2 separate regions of the Homo sapiens genome follow, and region 1 is linked to region 2. The links are contacts of gene promoters, found by promoter capture Hi-C in blood cells and fetal thymus (Javierre and others, 2016). All regions are on one chromosome and are shown on one strand. The core of a region is centred on a gene start or on the middle of the fragment in contact, and the rest is flanking DNA. Distances in the headings are between cores, read along the strand shown. Region 1 has its middle 190 kb from the start of MIR1244-2. Region 2 holds the start of SEMA6A (semaphorin 6A).

Evidence for each region. The method cuts DNA at HindIII sites, captures the fragments that hold promoters and counts their contacts. A CHiCAGO score of 5 or more calls a contact.
Region 1: a contact is called between a fragment that was not itself captured here and the fragment with the promoter of SEMA6A in region 2, in 1 of 17 cell types (endothelial precursors). The highest score is 11.9, in endothelial precursors.

Annotation. Positions count from the first base shown.
Region 1 is chr5:118,786,209-118,788,908 of GRCh38, reverse strand. No RefSeq gene overlaps it. Among named protein-coding and RNA genes, the nearest start is that of MIR1244-2, 190 kb to the left of the region's middle. The HindIII fragment of the contact is 6,843 bases long and covers 1-2,700 here.
Region 2 is chr5:116,573,505-116,576,204 of GRCh38, reverse strand. SEMA6A (semaphorin 6A) reads left to right here and starts at 1,382. Exons shown (of 19, transcript NM_020796.5): 1 at 1,382-2,020. SEMA6A-AS2 (SEMA6A antisense RNA 2) reads right to left here and starts at 1,787. Exons shown (of 3, transcript NR_147170.1): 1 at 1,666-1,787. RefSeq lists a silencer at 1,547-1,626. The HindIII fragment of the contact is 8,307 bases long and covers 1-2,700 here.

The sequences.
Region 1 (2,700 bases), core at 12-2,511, 2.2 Mb before region 2:
TTGAATTCCCAGAAAATTTGAATTCTGAATTGGAAAATTCAGAAAACTATGAAGATGAAATAGATTTCCATAGGCTAAGTTCTTAAACTAACCAACAAGAAGACACCCACAACTCAACCCTTCCAAACTTTTTTCTTCCCAGCAAGGAAGGTGAAAGCCCATCCTTCTGTCTTCTCTTTTCTTCAGCTGTGGGACCATCCACCCAGGCTTCCTACATACAATTCAGCCCCTCCCTGTCCCTCCTTCCACTCCTCCAGTTCAGGTGCATTTTCTCATCTCTATCTTGATTTCTGACATAGCTCCTGAGTGGTCCAGCTGCCAAAAGTCTTACTCTTCCCATATCCTCTTACCATCTGTCTGAAATTCAAATCTGACTGTGTCATTCCCTTTCTGAGACTTACCATCACCATAGGGATGCCATTCCATAACATCTGCAATCCCGACCAGATGTTCCATTATCAGGCTTCCATATTTGTCATTGCTATCTCCCATTATGCCCGGCATTGCACTTTGTACTTGAGTAATATAGAACTATGTGTAGTTTTCAGAAATATCATGCTGTTCCATACCTGGTGCCTTTGGTTACAATTTTTTCCTCTACCTATAAAACTCTACCCCAGTGATTTTCAACCAGGGACAATTTTGTCCCTTGAAGAGACAGTTGGCAACATCTGCAGACATTTTTGTTTGTCATAACTTGGGGAGGGGTGCTACTGGCACATAGTGCATAGAGTCCAAGAATGTCACCCTTCCATAACAAAGAATTATCTGGCCCAAATGTCAATATTGCCAAGGTTGATTAACCTTCCTCTACCTCTTCATTTCCAGTAGGATAATTTCTACTTTCCGATTATGATTTAGGTAAGACTTTCTCTTCTTTAGCAAATTGTTCATGATCCTTCCTTTTGTAGGATTGGGGAAGTAGCCCTTTGCTGTTCTATGAAAGTGTTCTCTGTGTATACCTATACCATATTTTCATAGGCCATATGTTATTATAATTTTTTATTTTTAATAAAGAAAATACAAGTGTTAACAAATAAGCTGTCAGATTGTACCAGAATAATGGCTAAATCCCACATTTTTAGTTCAAAGCAAAGCCAACAGGTGGTTCAGCTACCACTCCTCAGGCTTAAGATGGAAACAAATACAGAAACCAGCTCTACAACCAACCACCCTCCTTCCACACTGTCAACACAAGAAGAAAGTCTATCCCCTCACTCACATTTTGGAGAGAAGATGCTTTCTTTCCCCAAGGATAAGAGGAGGTCCTGAAAGAATTTCCATTAAAAAAAAAAAAGGGTTGGGAGGGCAACCTTCCAAAAGGGTAACTATCATTTTTATTTCTTTTTGGGATGTCTGCTTTGCCAGGGAATTGGGGAAAATCAGATGTGGGTAGTGAGCTTTTTACCAGTGGGCCATGTTGGAGTAACCAGCCATCCATACCAACTGCCCTGAGTGTATATACAATGAGTGAAAACAGCAATTAATACTACCAAACTAAGGCAAGACTGCAACAAATCAGTCAAGACCGGCCCAGTCAGGAGGGTAGTTTTTGTTCCTTTCTTGCTCCCTCAGCCACACCCTGACAGGGTAGCAAGCAACAGTGGGTAGAGGAAGAGGAGAGGAGAGGTGTGGAAGTCAAACCCTCCACTTCAGAGGAGTAAAATCAAAGCTCTTGCGTATGCTTGGGGCTGGGGTGGGAGTAGAGAGAAGAGATTTGAATCAGATGTGTTACTGAAGTTTTTTAAATAAATAGGACTAAATCATGGAAACAGAAAGGGTACTGTTTGTATAAGTCAGAGTGTCTTAAAACTTATGGAACTGGGTCAAGATTATATGAAGGAAGGCATTACTTATATAAGACATCTAGGAATAGCTACTGCCAAAAAAAGTCACCTTTATATCCCAGTGAGTTGACAGGGTTCAATAAGCCATTCACAAATATCTATGATAAAAAATTTCAAACAGCACAAGAAGAAATCATAATTATACTGTATAATAATGCCATAATCTATATGTCAACACAACACTGGGGGTCTTAGAGTCCTTCCTTCTTCTTATGGGGAAATCGTCACATGGGATGGGTGAGTCATGAAGTTCGGAGCGTCTTGGGTCCCTCCTACATTAGGGAGTCTCCATTACTGCAGAAGGCCTCTTGCAGGCCTGGAGTGTGAGTAGACAGGAAGGTCAGCAACAATGCCTTTCTACACCGGAGCTCAGAAGGAAAGCTCCATTAGCCTTCACCAGACCCACATGACTTACTTTAATGTCAGTATATAAGATCTTTTTTGAAGGTTTGAGTATTCTAAGAAAGGTTTTATAGAGGTCAAAGTTCTAGTTAACTGGGAACTTCCTAAGGGAAGGCATTTCAAATTAGTGATGTGGATGCTGCCTGTACCCCTGACTGGGCTCATACCCTGCCACACAGACACACACACACAGACACGCACACACACACACACACACACACACACACACATTATGCAATCCCATTTTTTGGTGTCTTGGTCTAGAAGACAACTCTATTCCCTTCCATGGGAGATTTCTCTCTCTGGGTTTCTTTTGGCTTCTCCTATGTTGCAAAATGTCTGAGGCTGCATCCTTCTGAGCATTACCCTTCTCTGCCCTTCATGAAGGCTCTGGACAGAAAGGGGCTGTGTCCTTCCACCTCTGCAGGACTTGCTACCTACCTAATTTTCT
Region 2 (2,700 bases), core at 133-2,632:
TTTTTTTCCTACCATTCTCCCTACCTTTTCCAGGTGGTGGTAGTGGTGCGGGGGGAATGGGTGTTGACCCATGTGCATTTATTCTTCGTGAAGCCTCTTAAGCAGATGTCTGTACTTAGAGAAGCGACCAAAGAGGGAACGTGGACTTATTAGTGGTCTTAGTCCCAATTAGGGAACAGGTACAGTTTCCAATATAAAGAAACTCGGCCTAAGTGGGACTGAGACCCCGATCTCCGCACTTGCTTTTCTCAGCCAACTCCATGACTAGTAAATATCTCTCCGAGAACTGCTGGGCCGCCCGATGTTACTTTGTTTAAAGGTTGCGACTAGGATCCGTACCATCTGCGAAGCCCCCTTGGGGAGCAAGAGCCGCGGCGCGCAGTTGATTTCGGGGCGCAGCGGCAGGGGGAGGGGAACGTGGTGTGGCCCGACGAGTTGGCACAAGCCTGTAACTGCAAGACTTTGTAGCTATTGAAAGTTCAAGTGGTGAAAGAAGGCTGTGCCTGCCATTCTTCATGTGATCATAACAATAGCGCCTTGGAAGTGGTTGCGATTTTCTTCTTCCATAAACCTTTTGGGTTCTCACTGGAATTGTATGCGTGTTATTTCTGAAGTTTACTTATTTCTAAGACCAGTCCACAAAATGTGAACTTCATTAAGTTTTAAAATAGATCGCCGTCGTTAAAAACGCCATTCTCTGCACTGTAGTTTATTTGCTTACTTCACATGCTTTATTAACGTGTGTATGTGCGTAATTAATAGCTGTGTTCTTATCTTCCAAGTGTATTTTTAACCGCACCGGCTTCTATCCAATTCATCTAACTACGTAGAGCGTCCATCGCTTCTGGAATCTACCTCTTGATAACAGTAATCAGAATCAGAAAAGCTCGCCGTTCACTTACCCTCATCCTTTAAAACTTTTCCATTTAAGAAAATCGATGAACAAAACCTTTCTTGTAACTCGCTCCTGCACTACGTCTATTTTTATTTATTTTTCTGATTTGGCAGGACTCAGCAATGCTGTCCGGGATTTTTTTTTTCTTTTTTTTTTTCCTAGCTAGAGCAGATGTGGGGGTGGGGGAGGTGAGGGCTGGGCTCCAGCCAGAGTCGCCCCCGCTGAGCCTCCGCCTAGCGCGCGGTGGGGCCAGGAATCCTGGTGGAAGGAAGCGGCGCTGGCCAGTTGGTCCAAGGCTCCACCTGCAGCCACACCGCGTAGTTTCTCCGCCTCTGCCTCGCTCACTCGCACTCACATACACCACAGCTCTCCTTTGGGTCGGAGGAGACGCCAGCCAAAGTAGGCGGAGTTGCGGAAGGAGAGTCCGATCTGCGCAATCCAGTCCGGGACTTGGCTCCGCCCGGGAGCGGCGGCCTCTCCGGTGACAGAGGAGTAGTGAGCGGCACGGGGTGAGGCTGCAGCCAACTCCGCTCCCCGCGCACTCGGCTGCCCAGGCGCTCGGAACCCAGCAGCGGCGCTCCTCCGCGGTGCCGGTCGCCCGCGATGCCCGCTTAGCAGCGTGTAGCAGCGGCCAGCATCACCACACCCGCGGCACCGCGCTGCCGGCCGCAGAGCCGGGCCAGAGCCTTGCACCCCTGCCCCAGCCCCCACCCCGCCCCCCGCCCTGAAATGACTTGTTAATCGGCGCAGACACCACCAAGGGGACTCACCGAAGTGGAATCCAAGTGGAATTTGGATTTGGAGAAGAGTTTCTTGAACATTTACCCTCTTCCTTGTTGGTTTTCTTTTTCTTTTTCTTCTTTTTTTTTTTGGCTTCTTTTTTCCTCTCCCCTTCTCCGCTCGTCATTGGAGATGAACACATCGCGTTTGCATCCCAGAAAGTAGTCGCCGCGACTATTTCCCCCAAAGAGACAAGCACACATGTAGGAATGACAAAGGCTTGCGAAGGAGAGAGCGCAGCCCGCGGCCCGGAGAGATCCCCTCGATAATGGATTACTAAATGGGATACACGCTGTACCAGTTCGCTCCGAGCCCCGGCCGCCTGTCCGTCGATGCACCGAAAAGGTACGCCCCGGGCGCCCGGGCGCGCCCCACCTCCCGGGCAGCTGGACTCCAGCCTGAGGGTCCCGGGGCCGTGGCTAGCGCGTGCTGTCGGCTTTGTGGTGCCTGCGTTTTATTTTGTCTTGTGTCTCTGTTTCCCGAGCCTTGCCCGGTCCTGGGGGAGCAGCCGTGAGCCCTGCCTGCCTTTCCTCTCTGCCCTGCGCCCCAGAGTGCGTCCGGCTCCACGTCGAGAGCTTTCCCACCCGCGTTGCGCACACGCCCGGCGCCGCCCCGGGCCGCGACGGCGCGTATGGCTGTTCCTCCTGGGGGTGTGTGTGCGAGACCCAAGGCTCATCCTCCCGCGTGCCCAGCAGGGAGCAGAGCGGGCCCTAAATGGTGGGATTCTCGGAAGCTCCCTGGCCCGGTGTGTCGAAGGCAGGGGAAGGGGTTCTGCCCTCGAGGGCTGGAGGGGGTTGGGTATAACAGCGCTGTTTTCGTCCAGTGCCAGGTGGGAGAAGGGGTTCCGCGGAGACGGTGTGGAAGCGGAGAGAATCTTTTGTTGTCAGTGTGGGGTCTGGGCTGGGCTCCGTGGAGTGCAAGAAACTTGTAATGGCTCTAGGCACCCGCGCGCCCTGTCTCTCGGTGAGATCCTGGCTCCTGTGGCCGCTGCCACCAGAGGTTCCGGGCTTTGTTTGCTCGAATAA